Regions from separate parts of the Homo sapiens genome. Here regions 1, 2 and 3 are each linked to region 4. Evidence: promoter capture Hi-C in human tissues and cell types (Jung and others, 2019). All regions are on one chromosome and are shown on one strand. The core of a region is centred on a gene start or on the middle of the fragment in contact, and the rest is flanking DNA. Distances in the headings are between cores, read along the strand shown. Region 1 overlaps KCNN3 (potassium calcium-activated channel subfamily N member 3). Region 2 overlaps KCNN3 (potassium calcium-activated channel subfamily N member 3). Region 3 overlaps NUP210L (nucleoporin 210 like). Region 4 holds the start of IL6R (interleukin 6 receptor).

Region 1 (5,979 bases), core at 2,717-5,216, 420 kb after region 4:
GGGAGGTGAGCCCCGTGGCCTCCACTGCAGCCTTTCAGTCCCAGGGCAGCTTAGAGAAACCGAGAAGTGTGGTTAAGGGCATGACCTCCGGGGCCAGACTGCTGGGTCCCAGCCCTGCGACAGCCATTTAGGGCTACCTGACCTTGGAACGCCCACTCCACCTCTCTGCACCAGCATGCCTCCTGTGTCAGATGGAGATAATATTCTGGACTACCTCACAGGGCTGTTGTGAAAATAAAGGAGTTAATGTATGCAAAGTGCCCAGAACAGTGCCTGGCCAAGTAAGTGTTAACTACCCTTATCATTTACTTTGCATCCTCTACAAATCAGGGTGTCTGGGTTGGAACTTGGTGCACCTCTGGGCATTTCGAAGCTGGAAGTAGAGATAGCTCCTAGTTCCAAAGGAAGGCGGGAACACAGCCCTGAGCAAAGGCAGCAGATGAGATCCAGGAAGCATTTCCAAGCAGTGACTGTGTGTATGGCGGCCCTGCACTTGGTCCTGAGTGGTGCACGCCACAAAAGAAACATTCCCTTCCTCAGGGAGCTGGTCATTAGAAGAATGATGCCTGATTTCTGGAAGGCACCTTACAGTTTACAAGGTGGTTTCACGTATTTGTTCTCATCCATCCTCACAACAGCCCTCGGCCTTTTACCTTATAGATATTACAGGCTGAGGCCCAGAGGAGGGTGGGTGGCTTGTGCCAGAATTCAAAGTCAAGGCCTCTGACTCGCAGTACAGAGCACTGCCCACAAGCCCTCAGGCACACTCTCCAATGGGAAACAACTTAGAAACATGGGAAGCATCCATTTAAATAGACCTAAATGACATCTTAAGACAACAAGGTAAGGTAGAGTATGATCAATTGCCAGAGTGAAACCTACAGTAGAGCTAGGGGAGCTCAAAGGAGGGAGGCCACTGTGGATGGGTCAGAGACAGCTTTCAGAGGCAGATGTGAGGAGCAGCTGAGATCTGTGGGGTGAGGCGGTATGTCCAATATGGCAACCACAAGAATGAGAGGAGGGCTTGGGACTCGAACCCAGGACTTCCAAGTGCCCAGGTCCATGCTCTCGGCCCCACTCTGTGTGCTGAGATGGAATGAAAGTGCTCTCCCTGATGTCTATTAATCTCCCCATTCATTTAATTGGTACAGTTCTTGAGGCCCACTGGAGATACAAAGAAAACTAATAAAGTAACTAATTCATTCACTCTTTCACAAAAATTTCAACCACTTCTCATTTGCTGAGCACTTGCTAGATATCCAACAGTGTGCTAGATTCTATATATACAGTGATATACACCAGAAGCTTCTGATCTGGCTTATTCACTAACTCTGACTTTCTACATTGCATGGGGTCGTCCAACTATGGGAAAAGGTCTCCATTATTTGCTATGCATAAGATGATCTACACATAAGCCAGTCTTCTTTTAGCCTCTTCATGTTCCACAGTTCCATAAGAGCAGCCTGCAATCATTTACTCAGCACACATGTATGGGGGCCTAAGGAGGGCTGGTGCTGTTCTGGTCCAACATAAGCACAGAGAAGGACAGAACACAGTGCTGGCCCTCAAAAATATTTTGATCTTCACAAGCACTTCCTGGTGCCTGAAATGCTACCCAACCACAAGACCCAGATGGGGCTGAAAAGAGCAAATGGTGAATTCAGGAACACTCAGACTGTATTAGGGTAAAACAAACCTCCCTACATCAATCAACTGGGGATCAACTGGGGACAGCTCACAATGTTTTCCATCCAGAAATGACCATAACTTTCTTTTCAAAGGGGTCTGAAAGCATCTGGGAGCATCACACCTCCCCGGGAAGGATTTGGGATCAGCTGCACATTTCAGCCCCTTATTTATTTCTTTTGGCAGCAATGAATTGACATCAGAATCCAAGTCTATTTCCATCATTTTAAAGGAAGCAGTGAAGGGAAAGGGGCCAGATGCTCTCTCCTTTGGGCCTCTTCCTTTTGTCCTAAAGCTCAAAACCTTTACATGAACAGGCAACTCCCACCTGCTTCTTGGTTTTGGCCAGTACAACCTCCCTGGCCAGCTCCAGCCCTGTGGGATGACCAAGCTGTGTGCTGGATCAACAGGGACTCTCGATATCTTACAGATTTCTTTGCATTCTCCATCGCATGTCAATAAAAAAAATTAACCAACCGCTTTTAATAGCTGGAAAACATGTCAAAGAAGTCTGGCTGAACTAGGAATGTTTTCTATTTGGTAAAATGTTGAATTAGCATCTTCTCTTTGCTGCCTGAACATCAGTGAAGCTTGAAATTGATATGGTTCCTTGGGGGATGGCAGTGACACCGGGCTGCCATACATCCCAGGATAGGGTACCTGCCACACGCATTGCCCCCACTCACTCCTATCTGAGGACCAATAAGGGGCTTGTAGAACAGAGGGAATCCAGCGGTCAACTGGTCAACCCTTCTGCCCCGTGACTCAGAACTTTTCAACACAGAGTAACAATCCTTAACACACAGGAATGCTTAGGAATTATATCCCATTTGATGAGAATCATTTTTTTTTTTTTTTTTTTGAGACAGAGTCTTGCTCTGTCTCCCAGACTGGAGTGCAGTGGCACGATCTCAGCTCACTGCAAGCTCTGCCTGCCGGGTTCATGCCATTCTCCTGCCTCAGTCTCCCCAGCAGCTGGGACTACAGGCGCCCGCCACTACACCCGGCTAATTTTTTTGTATTTTTAGTAGAGATGGGGTTTCACCGTGTTAGCCAGGATGGTCTCGATCTCCTGGCCTCAAGTGATCCACCCGCCTCGGCCTCCCAAAGTGCTGGGATTACAGGCGTGAGCCACCGCGCCCAGCTGAGAGTCATGTTTTAAAGTCATTTATTCCTAAATGCCCACAAATTTTCAAGTGGTTAAGTAGATTTGAGATCAGGCAGTGATGGAACACTACGCAGCCACTAAAAACACTTCTGCACACGGCCGTAATCCCAGCACTTTGGGAGGCCGAGGTGGGCAGATCACGAGGTCAGGAGATCGAGACCATCCTGGCTAACACAGTGAAACCTCATCTCTACTAAAAACACAAAAAATTAGCGGGACGTGGTGGCAGGCGCCTGTAGTCCCAGCTACTCGGGAGACTGAGGCAGGAGAACGGCATGAACCCGGGAGGCGGAGCTTGCAGTGAGCCGAGACAGTGCCACTGCACTCCAGCCTGGGTGAAGAGCGAGACTCCATCTTAAAAAAAAACAAAAACAAAAACAAAAACAAAAACAAAAACAAAAAAAACCAAAAAACACTTCTGCAGACAATATCTGAAGACATGGAGAATGGTTGATGATAGACTATTAAGTGATAAACTCAGACCCCAAAACGATATGTAGTATATTTCCAATTATTTCATTTTTAAGCTTTTTTAGTGTAGAAAAAGACTGAAAATATGTCAATAGAATTCCTAAGAGCTGCCTCCATCCATGTGGTCCCTGTTCTGCTCCAGGCCACGAGCCAGCCCTTCACAGATCTGTGATTTCTCATTGATGACAATAATCTGTAATAAAGCACATCTATAGGGGCCTACCATGCAAGGATGGCATTGTCAACCCACTCTTACAGAGGAGAAAGCTTAAGCTCTCAGAAGTTAGGTAACTTGTCCAAGGGCATGTTACCTAACTTCTCACCATGGCAAAGCCAGGATTTGCAAAAGCCAGGTTTTACACCCAGATCTGTCTGCCTCCAGGTTCCATTGCCCCGCCTGTGTCCCAGCACCCCACCTGCTCTGGCGGCCACGCCTTGCTGGCCCTCCAATATCTGCAGCGAGGCTTCTTAGAGCTGTTCCAGCCTTTCCTCCCCTGAGGCTGTGCAGAGGGTGATGGAGTGTGTTCCCCAGCTTCTGAGCCAGCCACATAAATTGCTCTCCTGGCCTGCCTTGTAGCTTCCAAAAACAGGCCAGAACTGTAATGATTATGGTATATCTTCCCAGAGACTTTGAAGTTCTAAATGTATTTTATTGTTTGGGTCATCGCAAAAAGGAGAAAGCTATGCTTACAGACAGAGACCTGGAGGGGCACTGAACCAAACTGAAATATTAGCTTAACTGAGATAATGATGCGCAGGCTCCTTCCCCAACCAAGCTGTTACCCACAAAGAGTATATGTGTATGGTTGTGTGTGTGTGTGTTTATACACATATGTGGTCCATTCACGATTTCTGTCACTGGCTGAAACCCCCAAAGGGAAAAGGTGATAGTATCTGAAGTTCATAATTTCTGAATTAAGGTCTGATGTGCCTGCCTGACATCACTATGTTTTGTGCATTCAATCTGGGAAATAATTGATTTAGAAATCTTTTCTATCTAATAAGGTCAACTTTTCCTTCAATTTCATGGAGAGGCTCCAAAATTGATTGATATTCAACATCGGCTTATGACTGTGGTTCTGTAATGGTTGTCCTAATTAGATACTCTTGCTAATTAATGCTATGCAAATTAAACCAGCCCCTCTTCCGCTAAAGGGAAGACCGCATCACTGGTCGCTGTTCTCCATGGAGACCTGAGGCTTCTTTCCCTCCACATCAGCACCAAGCCCTGGCCTTCCTCATTCCTCAATCTCACACTGTCCAGTTCTTGGGATCTTTCATTCTTACCCATCATCCTCAGCTCCTATCTTAGCACAGCCTCCTCCTCCCAGGTGCAGCACCCTAATTTAATTGCAAGCCCAGGCGTGGTGGCTCACGCCTGTAAGTCCAACACTTTGGGAGGCCAAGGCAGGTGGATCACTTGAGGTCGGGAGCTCAAGACCGGCCTGGCCATCATGGTGAAACCCCATCTCTACTAAAAATACAAAAATTAGCTGGGCATGGTGGTGCAAGCCTGTAGTCTCAGCTTCTCAGGAGGCTGAGGCAGGAGAATGGCTTGAACCCAGGAGGCAGAAGTTGCAGTGAACCGAGATCACACCACTGCACTCCAGCCTGGGAGACAGAGCAAGACTCTGTCTCAATAATAATAATAATAATAACAACAACAATAATAATAATAATTGCAGCTGTTGGCCCTCCCAGCATCCTCAGAGCGGCTTCCCAACCTGGCTCCTACCAGAAGTCAGCTAACAGAATCCTGTTTCAGTCACTAATGAATGAAGTGACAGAATGAAGTCACTCAGACCCTCTCTCTCCCAGGACTGTCCAACCTGAGACCGGGAGAGACAGCCGATGCTGTCACAGTGGGAAGGGAGACTCTGGGGACTCCAGAGGGCAGCTGGACCTCTGACCAGCCTGAGAAGGGAGAAGGGCCTGATACTTGCTAGCCAAGACAGCTCTGGAACAGAGGCCCAGGGTGTGCATCCGAGGGCGCAGGAGTCTCAGCCTCCTCCATAGTGAATGCCTGGCCTGGACAAGTTGCTTCCTTCTCCTAAGCCTCAGCCCCCAGTAAAATGAGACTCCTGGACAGAACCTTCTCCGAAGTTCAGTTAAGCCTGATGACCAAGGCGCCGAGCACACATGCCATGACAAACAGGTCATAGGGACATGTCCAACACTCATTCCTTTTTTTTTTTTTCTTAGGAGTTTTCTTTTCCCAGGCATTTCTGTGATGAAATGTTGGGTGTGAAACGGTCAGCCACAAAACCCACTCACACCATCTTCTCCTCAAACACAACAAGGCAAGCTTCCTATTTTTAGTCATGGGGGGGCTAACGAAGATGTTCCTTGTCTCTTTCTAAATAACATAGGATTTGAAACCAAAAGGCCAGAGTTCAAGTCATGTCTTTGCTACTAACTAGCTGTGTGACACTGGATCGGTCCTTTAACCTCTCTGGGCCTCTGGTTTCTTCTCTGCAAACAAGAACTACCCTTACTTTTCTCACAGCTGTTAGGGGATGAGATGAGATCATGCATACGAAAAATCTCATTCTGTTTTCACACAAAGAGAAGCATGCATTCCCTTGTAGTCAAACACCCCTTCTCTTGCCATACAGATGTCAGTGCAGGTAAATGCAGCTGATCCTCAGTCCGGA
Region 2 (5,677 bases), core at 295-2,794, 450 kb after region 4:
ATAATAATAAATTAATTTGAAAATAAATAAAATAATATGACCACTCTCCTCTCAGAAGCCCCTGCACTCCCATCCAGAGTGGTCCTAACAATTGTGATTGTTATTGATGATGACAATGATGAAAGGAAAAGAGATGTCTTTTTCCTGTTATCTAACTCTGGCTGTAAAATTAGTTGGGGCCTTAACAGATTGGGATCTAAGACTTGTCAATGGAGTAAGAAGTTGTATCTTGGAGGGAAGAGGCTCTTCATAACACTCATCATAGCACTTATCACCATCGAACATAATATATAATTAACTTAGATAGTTTACTATCAGGCTTATCTATTAAAATGTAAATTCGTGACAGCAAAGATTTTTCTCTTTTGTGGGTTTTTTCTACTACAGTCATGTGTCCCATAATGACATTTCAGTCAAGGTCCTGTACAATTATAATGGAGCTGAAAAATTCCTATCACTTCGTGACATCTTGATGATCCTGAACCTGTGTCAGCCCAGGCTAACGTGTGTTTGTGTCTCAGTTTTTAACCAAAAAAGATTTTGTAAGTAAAAATGCATCTTTTTAAATAAATATTTCTAAAATGGAAAAAAACTTATAGAGTAAGAATATAAAGAAAATACTTTCGTGCAATTGTATAATGTGTTTGTGTTATTACAAAAGAGTATAAAAAGCTTATAAAGTGAAAAATTTGGCCAAGCGCAGTGGCTCATGCCTGTCATCCCAGCACTTTGAGAGGCCAAGGCGGGTGGATCACTTGAGGTCAGGAGTTTGAGACTAGCCTAGCCTACATGGAGAAACTTTGTCTCTACTAAAAATACAAAAATTAGCCGGGTGTGATGGCACGTGCCTATAATCCCAGGTACTCAGGAGGCTGAGGCAGGAGAATTCTTTGAACCTGGGAGGTTGAAGTTGCAGTGAGCCGAGATCGTGCCACTGCACTCCAGCCTGGGCTACAGAGTGAGACTCTGTCTCAAAATAAATAAATAAATAAATAAATAAATAAAATTATAGTAAGGTAAGGTTAACTTGTTATTGAAGAAAAAAATATTTTAAATAAATGTAGTTAGCCTAAGTGAACAGTGTTTACAAAGCCTACACTAGTCTACAGTCATGTCCTAGGCCCTCACATTCACTCTCCACTCACTCACTGACTCACCCACAGCAACCTCCAGTCCTGCAAGCTCCATTCATGGTAAGTGCCCTATACAGGTGTAGTATTTTGTATCCATTGTACAGTATTTCTACTGTACCTTTTCTATGTTTAGATACATACTTGCCATTGTGTTATGATTGCCTACAGTATTCAATACAGGCCTGGGAGCAGTAGGCTACACCATACAGCCTCGTGTGCAGAAGGCCATGCCACCTAGTCTGTGTAAGTGCACTGCATGATGCTCACACAATGATGAAATTGCCTAATGACACATTTCTTAGACTGCGTCCCCGTCGTTGCAACGCATGACTGTATATCTGTGATGCCTAGAACAATACACTGGCACATAACAGGCATTCAATAACTTTGTCAAATGAATGAAATTATTTTTCCGCCTGGGCTGGCTACTCAGCTGGAAGTTTCTAAGTGTCTAGCATATGGTAGGTGCTTGACAGATGCCTACTGAATGTCAGGCTGATCTGTTAGCAGGGTCATTGGGGAAACTGAGGCAGCTTAGCTGAGTGATCCCACAGAGAGCAAAAGCAAGCGCCAAGGGTCCTTGAGTCAGACGTGGTGCCTCCTCCCGCTGCCACCCATGCTCCCTCTCCCCGCCCTGAGGGAAGCTCCCCTGAGCCCAACAGCCTCAGGTACCTCGGGGAAAAGTACATTTCTTTTCCTTTCCATAGACTTTTATTCTCCCAGTGAGAAGACAAATCTGTTTCCCCTCCACCAGAAGGCCTCAAGCCACAGCTACTTACATTATAGTAATTAAATCCCTGCTGCTAGGAGGGTTCAGGAGACAAGCAGGACTCGTGCCAAGGGCTGGCCTGCAGGGAGGAGGCAGCAGGGAGGGAGGCTGGCCAGAAGGGCCTGTCTCTCAGCTGTCTCCTGAGAGTGAGAAAATCCCCTTAGCCACGATGTCTTCACAGGCTTTCGCTTGTGGGATAGGAAGATAACGCCCCCCGCAGCCCACCCTGCCAACATGCACCATCGATGAGGACCCCCGCCAGCTGGAATAGCGTAGCTTTCTTCCAGTTCTCTCCGAAATTCCATCTGGTGCTCACGACCTTCCCGCAGATGGCCAGTGCAGGAAACATCCCCTCCTCAGGCTCCTTCTCTCACTCTCTAGATGACAAAACAGAGGACCAGAAACTAAGCTGCCCCACACCTAGCCTAGGATGCTTCTCCTCACCTGCAACTCAGCTGGCCTTCACAGAGCGCTCCATGTGTGCCAGAAACCATGTCCTCTGCCTTACAAACAGCAATATCTCATTAACTCTCATGACAGCCCCAGCGGCCAGGTTAGGATTCACCCCCATGGAAACTGTGAATCAAAGCACTGAGACAGCTTCCCAAAGCCACACAGCCTACAGTAAGTGACACAGCCAGCGCTGTACCCAATATCTGCTTGGCACTAAAGCCTGTTCTCCTAACACCAGGCTAGATAGCCCATATAGAAGAATCAGAGGATGGCCTGGGAGACAGATATGAGGGAGGATGGAAGAAGTGAGGGTGAGATGGACCTTCAGGAAATGGGGGGAAGGGGAGCAGACGGAGGCGTGGGACACCAAGTCTCAGGCTTGTGGGTCAAACCCAAGCCACATGTGTGTGCCCTTGTCTCTCGCAAAGCTCACATCAGACCTGTTGTTACTTGTTCAGTGCCTGCCTCCCCCACCAGCCTGTGAGCTCCATGTCTATTTGGTGCTGAACCCCCAGAACCAACCAGAACACGCCAGGCAGTGCCCTTGTCTCATTTATTCCTCATGACACCCATTCTCATGAGAGAGAGAAAACACTGTTAACCCCATTCACAGACCTGGAGACTGAGGCTCAAAGAGGTCAGTTTTCTCAACAAGGCTGCACAGCCGAGAAGCCACAGAGCTGCGGCAAGAACACTAGGACGCATGCTGTTGAGGGCTCGGGTGGCCCCTCCAGGGCCCACAGGAGACTTTCCTCAGCCCCAGAGCCCAGCACGGCACCTGGAGCTTCAGCAAACCCCTGTATCTAAACTGCCAGCATCCTCCTCCCCTCCTCCCTCTACCCTTACCCCACTCCATGAGCACAAAACATCCCCTGAGGCTCTGGGGGAGGCTGGCAGGGGACTGAGGGTGGCACAGTAAGGGGTGGGGTGGGCGGGAGTGGAGAGCTCAGGCAGGGCAGGAGAAGCTTTTTGGCTTGAAAGAGCCCAGTCTAGGATCTGATATGCAAAAGCATGTCTGCTGCACAATGTGAGGGCGTCGGAGACACTCCCCTGTGTGCAAATCCAAACTCCACCACCTCCCAGCTGTGAGACCCTGAGCAAGTCACTTAAACTCTCGGAGCCTTGGGTCTGTCATCTGTAAAATGGGGAGAATTATATCTACCTCACAGGGTTGTTGTGAGGACTTAATGAGATGAGGTGTGTAAACACACATAGTAGGCCCTTAATAAATATTCTCTTCTCCACCGCCTGTCACCTCTTCACTCCTGAATAAGACCCGGTGTTGCTTTGGAGTCATTCTTACGGAAGGAAAAATAAGTTCCCATGTAATGAGAGCGGTGCCTTCCCCCAAGCTGCTGTGGACACAGGCTTTCTTTCTATATGATCCCGTCCACCCACCAGGAAACCCTCATGACTCAACTCCATCCTAGACTTGCTCTCAGCTTGCATCAATTTCATTTCACTCTTAAGGGATCTTTCCATCGCTGGCACATAGTGTGCACCCCGTCAGGTGTCTTCTGCCAAAATGCCCTCCCACCAGGCTCAGCACCATTACTCTCCCAGAGCAGGGGAAAGCATCTTGGCAGAGCTTAACACCAGGTCCAGCCCAGAGCAGGAGGGGCTGGGAACCATGGGCCCAGCTGTGAGGGACCTTGCATGATCCCAAGGCCACTGAGCTCTCAGAAGAAACAACCAAGGTAAAACCCACCATTGCCCAGCATGGACAAGAGCCCCCTGGGTGACAGCTCTGGCCCACGTTGAATTCTTCACCTCTCCACCCACAAGAGGAATTAAAATACCACCTCCCAAATAAAGGGGCCGCTGCGCAAGGCCACACAGCCAAATAGCCAGGATTTGAATCCAGGTCTATGGGGAAAGCCTGTGCTCTCTTAGGAAGAGTTGGTGGAGAACAACACATCTGGCTGGGGAGAGACCCCCCTGGAGTCTGTAAGGCACAGATTCTCTGCACTCCTGCCGCCTGGAGCAGGGCTTGCCACACAGTGGGTGTTCAGGATATGTTTCCAGAAGAGGGATGGGAGAAACAAAAAGAGAGGAAGAACTAAAACCAGGAATTCCAGGATTCCAGCTATGCCCCTGCCACTAACAATGCTGAGTAGCCTCGGACAAGTCATGTAACTTTTTTTTTTTTTTTTTTGAGACAAGGTGTCACTATGTTGCCCAGGCTGGTCTTGAGGTCCTGGACTCAACCGATCCTCCCGCCTCAGCCTCCCAAAGTGCTGGATTACAGGTGTGAGCCACCGCATAACTTCTATGGGCCTTGGGGTCCTATAAGGAGGAGGATGGTCCTTTCCCTGCCTTCCTCACAGGGCTGGGAGGCATATGCAGGGATCTTGCCCACCCAGGCTAGCACACCTGGCTGGCCTACAGAGCTTGGCCATCTAGGGCAGGTATGGTGCCCCCCTGAGGAGGCCTCCCCTGCATCCTCCACCAATGCCATCCAGCTCTGAGCCCTCCAAAGGCGGTGGCTCAACCCTGAGCAACATGCCTACCCCAAGCCCTCACCTTGGGAGAAGGTAACATCACCCATGCAGGCAGCTCCGGCCATTCCCATGTATGGGAGATTTTTGGGGAGCCAACATCTTACCCACTGGAAGCCAGAAAAGAAAGAAAATAGCTAAACTCCAATTCGTTAAAATCAGAAATCTCAAAAGGGGTTTTGCTCTGCAAAAATCGCTGCTAGTGGAAGCTTGCGAGGAGGCAGGCTGATGCCAACTCAGGCAAAGGGGCTAGGAGGAGCCACCACTTGCTGGCAGCCCAGGAGCACCCACAGCCAGGCTGGCCACTTGACCAACCACTAGCAAGTGTCATCCTCCCCAGGTTAGTGGATGTCAGTCTCCCCACATCCATTACAAACGGGGACACTGAGGCTCGGAGAGTTTGAGGCACAGAGCTTAAGGAAAACCAACGGTGGCAGATGGACCAGAATGAGCAAGGGCAGCCTCTCCCTGCCTCCCTGCAGGGCCCCCTCAGCTCAAAGCCACTGACAGGTCAGCAAGGTTCAATGGCTCAAGCCAGGCAACAGGTCATCTGCTTCCTCCTCCCTACCTACTGGGTAACCTGGGCAGGGCACCCACCTTTATAGGTCTCTCCATCTATAACCTGAAGCAAAACACCAAACAACTGTCCTTGCAGATGTCGCGTGGCAGGCCTGGTATCAGCAAGCTCTAAGGAGTAGGTGCCAGCTCAGTCCCTGCAAGGAGTGTCCTTTAAGCTGACTTTCCTGTTAATTTGACACTGAGCAGCACTCCTGTCCTTTAAGAAAAATGCCCAACAAGCTGACTCAAAAATAACAGATGCCAAT
Region 3 (5,975 bases), core at 1,371-3,870, 380 kb before region 4:
CTTTTCCATAGGAAATAGCTTTTGATGTGAGATGACTTAAGTCAGAGTGAAAAGAAATATGACAGCATAGCAGCATAGGAAATTCTTTTCTTTTTTTTTTGAGACAGAATCTCACTCTGTCACCCAGGCTGGAGTGCAGCGGCATGATTTTGACTCACTGCAACCTCTGCCTCCTGCATTCAAGCAATTCTCCTACCTCAGCCTCCCAGGTAGCTGTGATTACAGGCATCTGCCACCACGCCTGGTTAATTTTTCTATTCTTAGTAGAGATGGGGTTTCACCATGTTGGCCAGGCTGGTCTCAAACTCCTGACCTCAAGTGATCTGCCCGCCTTGGCCTCCCAAAGTGTTGGAATTATAGGCGTGAGCCACTGTGCCCGGCTTGAAATGGGTTTTTAATTTTTTTTTTTTTGAGACGGAATTTTGCTGTCTCGCCCAGGCTGGAGTGCAGTGGTGCAATCTCAACTTACTGCAACCTCCGCCTCCTGGGTTCAAGCAATTCTCTGCCTCAGCCTCCTGAGTAGCTGAGATTACAGGCGCCCGCCACAATGCCCGGCTAATTTTTTTGTATTTTTAGTAGAGATGGGGGTTTCACCATCTTGGCCAGGTTGGTCTTGAACTCCTGACCTCGTGATCCACCCGGCTCGGCCTCCCAAAGTGCTGGGATTGGCGTGAGCCACTGTGCCCAGCCAGGTTTTTAATTTTTAAAGCTGTGGGAATGTGAAGAGAAGCTGGAGCTTTATGAGGAAAGGACTATAATTCATCCATTTCATGCAGAGTGCTCAATATTTATGGTTAAATAATCAATTACTTATCAGGAACACAATCTATATTGTGTTTTCACACTGTAAGAGAGCTGTGATACAGTAAGTGAAGCCCGCGTTTGAATCATAGCTTTATCATTTCATAGCCTCATGTAACTTTTCTGGGTCTCAGGTTTCTTATCAGTTAACAGTTAGATGGGGATAATAATGCCTACCTCATAGGGCTTTTGTGGTAGTTAAAAGAGATAATATACATACAATGACGAACATAGTATATAGTAGATGTTTAATGTCTAAAATTTTTTTTCGTGTTAAGACTAACTTATCTCTGAGGTCTTTTCTCAATTTTTTAATTCTTGTAGCAAAGCTTAATTTTTTAAAAAGAAACAGATTGTTGCTTTGTTTTCCAGGCTGCAGTGCAGCAGTTCAATTGCAGCACAAAGCAGCCTCGAACTCCTAGGTTCGTGTGATCCTCCACCTCAGCCTCCCAAGCAGCTAGGACTGCAGACATGTGCCACCAAGCCCGGCTATTTTTTTTTTTTTTTCATTTTTTGTAGAGATAGGGGTCTCATTATGTTGCTCAGGCTGGTCTTAAACTCTTGGCCTCAAGTGATTCTCCTGCCTCAGCCTTCCAAAGTGCTGGGCTTACAGGCGTGAGTCACCCAGCCCAGCCAATTTTGATAGCAATCATTCTACACTCCTCCGATACCAGTCCTTTTGCCAAAGCTGCTAGGAAGACAATCATATAAATTTAGGCTGATCTGTTTTTTTTTTTTTTTTTTTTTTTTTGAGATGGAGTCTTGCTGTCGCCCAGGTTGGAGTGCAGTGGCGTGATCTTGGCTCACTGCAGGCTCCGCCCCCCGGGGTTCACGGCATTCTCCTGCCTCAGCCTCCTGAGTAGCTGGGACTACAGGCGCCCGCCACCTCGCCCAGCTAATTTTTTGTATTTTTAGTAGAGAAGGGGTTTCACCGTGTTAGCCAGGATGGTCTCGATCTCCTGACCTCGTGATCCGCCTGCCTCAGCCTCCCAAAGTGCTGGGATTACAGGCGTGAGCCACCGTGCCCGGCCAGGCTGATCTGTTTTATAACAAGGGCTCTAAAGTTCATTTTAATTTTATGGCTTATAACCATGTCAAGACTGGCCTCTTATAGGTTCATTTCTGACTCCCAGAGAGTTTCTTCTTCTTCTTCTTCTCCTTTTTTTTTTTTTTTTTCTGGTTCATGTTCTCTCATGATACAGAAGTTTCTAATTCTTTTCTTTTTCTTTTTTTCTTTAATGGCATGATAAGAAAATTTCTAGTTTTTTAAAAAAGAAACTCTGCTTTTTAAGGCCAGGGTATGACTTTTATTTATTTGTTTTTTTTAGTAAGTCCATGAACTCACCTGGACCCCAGTTATGGTTGTTTGGTTGACTCCAAAAGGTTCTATAGAAGTGACTTCCAATACAGCAGTACCTGCAATGGAACCAGCTTTCAGGAGCCCTTCACCATCCTCCTCAATGACGGATGAATTAGGGAAACACTTGAGAACACGAGAACTCACGAAGGCAGCTCCTTCCCTAGGGAACAAGGAAAGGAAGTGGCATCTTTTTGGGGTCCTGTCTGACCAGAGAGAAAAGAGTAAAAATTTCCAGGATTACTGTTAGGGGATGTACTCGAGAAAACTGCTTGCCATTCTCCACGTGTGTAATTATTTGTTCCTCAGGTAAAAGTCTGCCTTTGGATTATGCTTATTTCTTTAAAATCAAATCTTATTACATATTTATAATTAAAGAATTATTTAGGCCGGGTGTGGTGGCTCATGTCTGTAATCCCAGCACTGTGGGAGGCCAAGGCGGGAGGATCACCTGAGGTCAGGAGTTCAAGACCAGCTTGGCCAACATGGTGAAACCCCGTCTTTACTAAAAATACAAAAAAAAAAAAAATTTTTAGCTGGGCATGATGGCGGGTGCCTGTAATCCCAGCTTCTCGGGAGGCTGAGGCAGGAGAATGGCTTGAACCTGGGAGGCTGAGGTTGCAGTGAGCCGAGATGACACCATTTGCACTGCAGCCTGGGGGACAAGAGCAAAACTCCGTTTCAAAAAAATAATTATTCAGCCAAAACAATTGAAAGCAGGTATTCAGGTAAATACTTGCAAATGAATATTCATAGCAGCACTATTCACAATAGCCAAAAGGTGAAAACAACCCAAATTTCTTTTCTTTTTTGAGACGGAGTTTCGCTTTTGTTGCCCAGGCTGGAGTTCAATGGCGTGATCTTGGCTCACTGCAGCCTCCGCCTCCCGGGTTCAAGTGATTCCCCTGCCTCAGCCTCCTGAGTAGCTGGGATTACAGGCATGTGCAACCACCCCTGGCTAATTTAGTATTTTTAGTAGAGTTGGGGTTTCTCCATGTTGATCAGACTGGTCTCGAACTCCCAACCTCAGGTGATCCACCTGCATTGGCCTCCCAGAGGCCTGGGATTACAGGCATGAGCCACTGTGCCCAGCCCCAAATTTCTATTAGGAGATGAAATTATAAACTAAATGTGGTATTTCCATATAATGGAATACTATTCAGTCATAAAAAGGAAGAAGTACTGATACATGCTACAACATGGATGAACCTCAAAAACATTATGCTAACTTAAAGAAGCCAACACAAGGCTGGGCGTGGTGGCTCACACCTATAATCCCAGCACTTTGGGAGGCCGAGCCGGGAGGATCGCCTGAGGTCAGGAGTTCAAGACCAGCCTGGCCAACATGGTGAAACCCCATCTCTACTAAAAATACAAAAATTAGCCAGGTGTGGTGGCAGGCACCTGTAATCCCAGCTACTCAGGAGGCTGAGGCAGGAGAATTGCCTGAACCTGGGAGGTGGAGGTTGCAGTGAGCTGAGATTGTGCCACTGTGCGCTGGCCTGGGCAACAGAGCGAGACTGTCTCAAAAAAAAAAAAAAAACAAAAAAAAAAAAACAAAAAACACAAAACGTTGCATACTGTATGATTCCATTTATATGAAATACATTCAGGATAGCTAATACCGTACACAGAAAGCAGATTAGTGATTGCCAGGGGCTGCGAGGAGGAAAGAAAGAAGAGTGACTGCTTCACAGGTATGGGATCTCCTTTGGTGGTGATAAAAATATTTGGAACTAGATAGAGATGCTGAATACACAATATTGTGAATGTACTAAATGCCACTGAATTTTACACTTTACAATAGTTTTACATTATGGGAATTTCACCTCACACAAAAAATTATTTGGGAAAAATCTCCTAGAAGGCAAAAGTGTTCTTTCTATGTCAATGTTTTACTGAAAATACTTAAGCTTAGATCCTGGCACTTCCTTATTCTCCCTTTTCCTTACCTGTTGGTATGGAGTTTGAGCTGAGAATTTATAGGCATCAGAATCTGCTCTGGTTGGCACTCTGGATAGAAGAGTTGGAGTTTTTCAAACACCTATAATGAGAAAATGTTTTCCTCATTTTTGGCAAAGACAAATTATGACTTTTACTTACATATAGACTTCAGTATAATCCCGAAGAGATTACATGCAAATAAATGACAACTACGAATCAACAGTCTGCCTAACTTCTAATTAGTCTAAAATCGTCCACAATACTCCTCTCCAAAATGAACCAGGCACTCAAAACGTAACTAGATATTCTAGAAGATATAACCTAATGTTAGCCCTGTTTCTGACTCTGAGGGACTCAGCATGTAGCAAAGTTTACACTTACCACATCTTCCATATTGCTTAGATATTAGGTATAAAAATACTTTGAAATTTCTAATTTTGGCTCTGGTAAAATGACATGAAGTTTGGGGAAAAGAACTTATAATATTAAATTAGCATGAAATAACATCCAGGTCTTCCACCTTCTAGTAAAGTGCTCCTTCCTCTACTTCACATGGAATCAGAGAACCAAAGCCAAAATAAAGGAAAAAATAAAACAGGAAAAGAAAAAAAAAGTCTCAAAATCAGAGGCAGTGAAACTTACTCGACCCATATAAGTGATAATTTGTTTTTTGAATTCTAAAAACAACAGAGCCATTTAGCTTTTAGCCCAAGAATATCTGTAGAAACTATTCATACTCTTACACCTTATCAAAAGTTAGAATTATGTTTTATCCTAACTGTGAATATATTTAAATGGACTTATATCGGCTGGACGCGGTGGCTCATACCTGTAATCCCAGCACTTTGGGAGACCAAGACGGGCAGATTACCTGAGGTTAGGAGTTTGAGACCAGCCTGGTCAACATAACGAAACTCCATCTCTACTAAAAATACAAAAAGTAGCCAGGCATGGTGGCGCATGCCTGTAATCTCAGGTACTCAGGAGGCTGAGGCAGGAGAATCACTTGTACTTGGGAGGTGGAGGTTGCAGTGAGGCGAGATCATGCTACTGCACTCCAGCCTAAGCAACAGAGTGAAACTCTGTCTCAAAATAAATAAATAATTAAATAAAAATTGTTAATGGACTTATAATATCTATGTCAGGTGGAGTGGATCAGAAATGAATCCCTCTCTAGTTACTATGGTGTTCATATCCTGTGTTCCTGATATGGGGAGTTGAAGGGAGTGTGTGTGCTACAGTTTCTTTTCTTTTTTTTTCCAGACTACTCACCTGCAAGTACTAATAGTTTCTAATGTTAATAGTATATAAAAGCAGCCGGGCGTGGTAGCTCACGTCTGTAATCCTAGCACTTTGGGAGGCCAAGGCGGGTGGATCACTTGAGGTTAGGAGTTTGAGACCAGCCTGGACAACGTGGCGAAACCCCGTCTCTACTAAAAATACAAAAATTAGCCGGGCATGGTGGTGCACGCCTGTAATCCCAGCTACTCGGGAGGCTGAGGCAGGGAGAATTACCTGAACGCTGCAGTGAGTGGAGATTGTGCCACTGCACTCCAGCCTGGGTGACAGAGTGAGACTCTGTCTCAAAAACAAAAAACAAGCCAGGCATGGTGGCTCACACCTGTAATCCCAGCACTTTGGGAGGCTGAGGCGGGCAGATCACGAGGTCAGGAGATCGAGACCATCCTGGCTAACACAGTGAAACCCTGTCTCTACTAAAAATACAAAAAATTAGCCGGGCATGGTGGCAGGCACCTGTAGTCCCAGCTACTTGGGAGAATGAGGCAGGAGAATGGTGTGAACCTGGGAGGAGGAGCTTGCAGTGAGCCAAGATCACACCACTGCACTCCAGCCTGGGCAACAGAGCAAGACT
Region 4 (6,327 bases), core at 2,070-4,569:
CCCCACTGCACTTCTCAGAATAATCGTTGTCCCTAAAGATGGATTCACATGGTGAATAGAGAATAAAGTGCATAGTTTTAAACTCTCACAGTTGAGAATGGCCCCAACACATCAGCCCAGACCTGGAGGTTGGGGGCAGGGTGGGAATTTAAAAAGACCACTTTGAGTCAGGGTATCTGGGATCTTGACCAGCTCTGTCACCACTGCCTGTGCCATCTTTACCAAGCAACTTCTCTTCTTGAGGCCTAGCTCCTTATCTAAAAAGTGAGGGAGGAGAAGCAATGATGACCAAGTCCCTTTTGGTTTCAAAATAACCTTACATATTTATTCTGTGGGTCTCCTGTAGACTTCTGCTTTAGGCAAACTTTAAGATGCTTCATCGCTTCAGGTGAAAGGTGAGAGAGGACTTGCTTGCTGGGAGTCAGCCTAGGGCTTCCCCCTTTACAGGAGACGGAGGGTCCCTGCAGGAACACCGGTGAAGGAGAGGGTGTCCCACACACCAGGTTCTGCTCTCTGCTCTCCCCTCACAGACTACAGAACACCAAGTGCCTGCTGCCATGGTCTGCAGTGTCTTTGGTCCTGGGTGGGCCGACCGAGCCCTTGCTCAGTGAGAGTCCTGGGCCAGGAGCCAGACCTCACCCTGGAGCTGCCAGTTACTAGTAGTGCAGTTTTGAACAAGCCACTTTACCTCTGTTAGCCTCAGTCTACTCATCTGAAAATTGGGGGCAATGTCTCCCAGCATTCAGGGTTGAGAATTTCAGAGGAGATTGTGTATGTAAAGCAATTTGTAAGCAGCACAGTTATCTGAGAAGTGTTCTGGCTCAGACAACTAAAGTCTTCATTGTTCCTTCTGTTGTCTGGGTGAGGGCAGGTCAGGCTGAATTGTGCAGGTATGCTTTCTTCTCTTTCTTTTTTCTTTTTCTTTTCTTTTTTTTGAGAGGGAGTTTCGTTCTTCTTGCCCAGGCTGGAGTGCAGTGGTGCCATCTCGGTTCACTGCAACCTCCGCCTCCTGGGTTCAAGTGATTCTCCTGCCTCAGCCTCCTGAGTAGCTGGGACTACCGGTACGCACCACCATGCCCGGCTAATTTTTGTATTTTTAGTAGAGATGTGGTTTTACCATGTTGGTCAGGCTGGTCTCGAACTCCTGACCTCATGATCTGCCCACCTTGGCCTCCCAAAGTGCTGGAATTACAGGTGTGAGGCACCACGTCCGGCCTGGCCAGGATTAAATTTTTTCATGTGAACCACAACACTAAAACTTTGTATATTGCTGCGCTTATCTTACAAATCAGGAAATAGGGGTTCAGAGAAGTTAAATAGCTTGCTTAAGTCACACAGCCAGCAAGTGGTAAAGCTGGGATCTGCATGACTACAGAGCACACAGGCTCCCCACCAGTAGATTAGAGAGGGGGAGGTCTGCTTTGGTGCAGAGACAGGTGGGATCTGTGATGCCCGTTCTTGGTTTCAACATTCTTTTAAACTCTCCTATCTGAGCCTAGGACTTTCTGCAGCCTTCCTGTTTTAGGCTGGCAGCTCACAGTCCCTCTCTGGTTATTTTCAGGTCTGTGTGTGCCACAGAGAGGAAGGGGGCAACCACAGTGGGAACCGCTTTCCAGCCCTGCTGCAACCCCTTTTGAAATAGCAGGCGAGAGGGCTGGTGGCCTCCACTGTGCTCTTCTGTTCCTGTCTGTGGGCATGGCTAAAGCAAACAAGCTCACCCACACCAGCTCCCATCGTGCGGTGGATCAGTGCATGTGCTTGGTTCTGTCTGGCACTGCTGATGGGTGGTTCCTACAGAAAGATCCAGATGCACGGGGTCTGAGGACTGTTTCAGAAGCTCTGTCCGTCCATGCCTGGCCCTGTCCACTTGGGAGTTCCATTAGGCCATGCCTGTTCCAGCTGTCCCAGGATCTTTGATCTGGGTTAGGATTGGCCTGAAACCAAAGGTAGAAAAACACATTCTAATGAGCAGTTGCTGGTCTAGAAGCTTCTCAGCCTAAACTTTATTTCAGCATTTTTCTTTCCCTCCAGATTCAGCTATGAGGCCATCCTATCAGCTTTAGGCTCTGTGGGGGTCCTTGAGAGAGTTCCCCTCCAAGGGACGGACAGATGGTCCCCTTCAAGGTCCTTGTGGTTGCTCAAAAGCCAGGTGCTTGTTTCTTTCTTTTTTTCTCTCCTTCCTTTCCTTCCTTCCCCTCTATCCCTCCTTCCCTCCCTCCCTCCCTCCTCCCTTCCTTTTCTTTCTTTCTTTTCTTTTTTTTTTTTTCTTTCCAGACAGGGTCTCACTGTCATCCAGGCTGGAGTAGCAGCCCCCAATCACGGCTCACTGTACCCTGGATCTCCCGGACTCAAGCAATTTTCCCACCTCAGCTTCCCTAGTAGCTGGGACTATAGGTGTGTACCACCACACCCAGCTAATTTTTAAATTTTTTTATAGAAATGGGGGTCTCACTTTGTTACACAGGCTGGTCTAGAATTCCTGGACTGAAGCAATCCACCCACCCGGCTCTCCCAAAGTGTTGGGGTTACAGGCGTGAGCCACTGCCCCTGGTGTTAGTGTCTGTCTGTCAAGTCAGGAGGGCAGCCATGAACGTTCTGATGTCTACTGAGCACGTGTGGCCCAGACCGTGTGTCAGGTGTTTAGGTGCCATCCACAGAACCTTCCTAATAACCCTGGGCAGCATAGGCTTTCTTATCTCTGACAGATGAGGAAATGGAGACTCAGATTCTGAACCGAAGTCACAGACACAGTAGATGGTAGGTCTAAATGGGGACCCAGGTCTATCTGACTGCAAAGTCCAAACCGTTTCCTTGCCTCTGCTGCAGCCTGCGAGGAGCAGCTGGGCAGAAAGACTGTGCCTTTACGGTGGTGAGTCTTCCGATGCCCAAGCCTCACCCCAGACCGATGAAATCAGAATCTCTGGAGACCCGACCCAGACATTGGTGGGTTTTAGGGCTCCTGGCTGATTCCAGTGGGCAACCGGGCTACCAAGCACTGTTTTACCCTAAGGGTAAGAGGAACATCGCCTCCTCGAGGGCTCTCCAGGTGTGCCTTTCACAGCGTAATCCCGTTCACGAAACCAAAAATCAAAACTAGGCCACTGCCCACTGGTGGCTGATACGCCCTTTTCTCATCAACAGAACCGGGAGGAAGGGCTCTGGTGGGGCTGGCGGTCCCCTGTTCTCCCCGCTCAGGTGCGGCGCTGTGGCAGGAAGCCACCCCCTCGGTCGGCCGGTGCGCGGGGCTGTTGCGCCATCCGCTCCGGCTTTCGTAACCGCACCCTGGGACGGCCCAGAGACGCTCCAGCGCGAGTTCCTCAAATGTTTTCCTGCGTTGCCAGGACCGTCCGCCGCTCTGAGTCATGTGCGAGTGGGAAGTCGCACTGACACTGAGCCGGGCCAGAGGGAGAGGAGCCGAGCGCGGCGCGGGGCCGAGGGACTCGCAGTGTGTGTAGAGAGCCGGGCTCCTGCGGATGGGGGCTGCCCCCGGGGCCTGAGCCCGCCTGCCCGCCCACCGCCCCGCCCCGCCCCTGCCACCCCTGCCGCCCGGTTCCCATTAGCCTGTCCGCCTCTGCGGGACCATGGAGTGGTAGCCGAGGAGGAAGCATGCTGGCCGTCGGCTGCGCGCTGCTGGCTGCCCTGCTGGCCGCGCCGGGAGCGGCGCTGGCCCCAAGGCGCTGCCCTGCGCAGGGTAAGGGCTTCGGGCGCACCTGGAGGGCTGGGGCAGCTAGCGGCTGGGGGAAACCGCCTTGGTCACCGCAGTCTGTGGGAGGCTGGAGGGAGGAAAGGAGGTGCGACGGATCCCCTTTTCTGTGGCTGCCTTGAGGCCCCGCGGGTACCTAGCTGTGTGGTCGCGGGTAGTGGCTCTTGCGCCCCCTGCTGCGCTTGCTCCCTTGGTCCGGAGCGCTCCCCGGAATGCCCGGTGAAGCTGTGCGGGAACCCTGCGGTCTGTGTACAGGACTGTGTCCTTGCAAACCTGACTCTCGAGCTTCCTTCCCAGTGCCCCCAGGAGCCTTTACACAACCGCGTCCCAGGTTACTCTAAGGGGAGACTGCCCGAGAGGGCGCGCCCCAGCGGGGTGATGTACCCGCCTGGGGAGTCCTTTGTACCAGCGCCCCTCTTCTCCCTCTGCATTGGGGGTCCACCTCGCCTGGTCCTCCCCCCACCCCCGCGGGTGCATGTGTGGATGACAGTGCCCTGACTATGAAGGGACTGACATCACGGGCGCTGAGTCACGGATCTTCCCGCTGCACGGAGTCACTTTGGCAGCCACCAACTCTGGGAAGCCAAGTGCCCCAGTCCTGGGAATTGAGTCGGGAGGCTGGCAAGGGAGTGAGACCTCCTGGGGCTGGCACGTGCTGGACTCCCCTCTAGAAAAGAGAAGGACCCGTGAGGGAGAGGGCAGAGGCACTTACTGCTCCCGTTGACTGTAATCTGCCCCTGGCAAACCAGGCTTTTCTTGGGCTCTGGCCGCATGCCCAGCTGCGTGTCTAGTCTCTCTTCTGGAAGAGTTGGGCAACTGGCTCTCCAGAGGTTTATTTTAGGGTCCCAGTGCTTCTTTGAGGACACAGCAGAAAACTAAGGGGCAGCTGACAGGCTTCTGGAACAGCTGACAGGCTGGGGAGGCTGAAGGCTAAGACTTTCAACCACTAGATCACACTGAATTCCAGTCCTAGGTGAACACTGATCTCTCCCTTTGAGGAGGTGACTTTCTGCAACTAGAGGCTGAGCTGGAGTGTCTGAGGCTCTCTTTGCTTTTTGGATGGTTGTGGTCCTTATGATTGGAAGAAAAAAAGAAGGGATTCCATTTTCAATACACATTTATAACTCCTGCCAGTAACAGACACTGTTGATTGGGGCACCCATTCAATGTTTTCTAATCCTCCACTGTATCTACATATAACTTTGTTTGAAAGAGGAGACTGAGGTTCAGGGAGGTTGGGATGGCGGGATGGCAGGTTGTCAGGCCCCGGTGATGGAGGCCAACCCCTCCCGTGGCTCTGTGCTCCAGTGTGGTAGATGTCTAAGACTCTCAAATATAGAACTAGATCAGCAGGCAGAGCTGGGGGCATTGGGGCAAGCTGAGAGTCACTCTTGTCTGGCTGAGTGCTGGGACAGAAAAGGCTGAGGGAGGGAAGTGGAGGCCCAGGCTTGCCCATGGTGGTGTTAGAGGGATGCAAGACAGGTTCCAGGGCTCGGATGGCCTCAGGAGCAAGCAGGGCTCCCTTGGCTGCCTCTGCTGCTGTCACGCCAGCCCAAGGCTCCTGCCCCAGGGAGGTTACTGTTACTGCTGTAGTTGCCACCACCTGTTGCTCCTGAGTGGATGCTAGGCCCTTCCAGGGCAGCCAGTTACAGTCAGTTTTCCATTTCCCTGGTGCTCAGGAAGGATTAGGAGAGGTGGTCTCATGGCCTGAACAGCCCATGAAAGGCAGAACTGAGAGACTGGGGAGGAAGTGAAAGTCCTCCCAGCTCAGAAGGAAAATGCAGAGAAGTAGAAATACCCAGCCCCTCTCCCACACCCACACAGACTCAGCCCACAAACTGGAGAGTAAAAATAAAGAAATCGTACAGGAAGCATGGAGCAAATGACTGTGAGATGTTTCGCTTTAGAGAAGTGAGGAGCAGAGGGGGAGCAGAGGCTGGAGTTGGCTGAGAGGGGAAATCCGCAGGTACAGCCTGCGGGGCTCTTAGAGCCCAGAGGTTTGTTTTCCTCGGGATCAGCTGCCGCCCACACACCCTGGAGCTGCCAGGACTTCTCAGGTGTACTCGTTGTCTAAGGGCCTGGACTAGCTGGGACTTAGGCTTCTGCCGGTTCCAACACTCTGGTGCTGGAAGGCTGGACTTGGGTGACTCAAGTTCCCTCTTCCTACTGCAATGCAAGAAAATACACAAAAGAAGTATGTATACCTTTAAGTATCTCAAAGAGCTATCTCAGCTTCTGAATTTCCTTCTAGGGCACCTCTTCCTGCCCCCATTACCCACACACGTGCCTAGCCTCACCCTAAATCAGTATTTCTCAAAAGCTTAGTTCTGAGCCTAGCATCAGATCTGGTGTGTGTGCTGGGTGGGAGGGCTTTGGTAAACATGATGATTTTTGAACCCTAACCCAGATTTATTAAATAAGAACACCTAGGAGTGAGGCCTGGGGCATGTCCTTTTAAACAAACTGCCCCTTGTGATTCTTAGGCACTGTCAGGTTTGAGGACGGCTGCCTAAATGGTGTCATTGAGGAACTGAATGAAGGCCCTCCCGCTTCGGGCTCTCTGTTGCCAGAAATCTCTCCTTGCTTTGGCTTGCTGCTTGTTTATTCATTGCAGCAAACATTTC

What was found. The method cuts DNA at HindIII sites, captures the fragments that hold promoters and counts their contacts. A contact is called where the count stands out against the background at its distance.
Region 1: a fragment that was not itself captured here is called in contact with the fragment with the promoter of IL6R in region 4 in 4 of the 25 tissues and cell types used here (H1 embryonic stem cells, bladder, mesenchymal stem cells and 1 more).
Region 2: a contact is called between a fragment that was not itself captured here and the fragment with the promoter of IL6R in region 4, in 1 of the 25 tissues and cell types used here (dorsolateral prefrontal cortex).
Region 3: a contact is called between a fragment that was not itself captured here and the fragment with the promoter of IL6R in region 4, in 2 of the 25 tissues and cell types used here (heart right ventricle and sigmoid colon).

The regions. Positions count from the first base shown.
Region 1 is chr1:154,822,836-154,828,814 of GRCh38, forward strand. The region is part of intron 1 of KCNN3 (potassium calcium-activated channel subfamily N member 3); the gene reads right to left. Among named protein-coding and RNA genes, the nearest start is that of KCNN3, 44 kb to the right of the region's middle. The HindIII fragment of the contact is 4,353 bases long and covers 1,791-5,979 here.
Region 2 is chr1:154,854,245-154,859,921 of GRCh38, forward strand. All of the region lies in intron 1 of KCNN3 (potassium calcium-activated channel subfamily N member 3), which reads right to left. Among named protein-coding and RNA genes, the nearest start is that of KCNN3, 13 kb to the right of the region's middle. RefSeq lists enhancers at 2,685-2,844, 4,979-5,479, 5,546-5,677. The HindIII fragment of the contact is 5,294 bases long and covers 1-4,191 here.
Region 3 is chr1:154,023,396-154,029,370 of GRCh38, forward strand. It overlaps NUP210L (nucleoporin 210 like), which reads right to left. Exons shown (of 40, transcript NM_207308.3): 29 at 4,111-4,202; 30 at 2,147-2,321. Among named protein-coding and RNA genes, the nearest start is that of RPS27, 36 kb to the left of the region's middle. The HindIII fragment of the contact is 5,326 bases long and covers 1-5,283 here.
Region 4 is chr1:154,402,024-154,408,350 of GRCh38, forward strand. IL6R (interleukin 6 receptor) reads left to right here and starts at 3,320. Exons shown (of 10, transcript NM_000565.4): 1 at 3,320-3,691. The coding sequence starts at 3,607. It overlaps IL6R-AS1 (IL6R antisense RNA 1), which reads right to left and starts at 4,541. Exons shown (of 2, transcript NR_147855.1): 1 at 4,416-4,541; 2 at 298-1,934. RefSeq lists silencers at 3,125-3,254, 3,455-3,604 and an enhancer at 3,844-4,450. The HindIII fragment of the contact is 9,903 bases long and covers 1-6,327 here.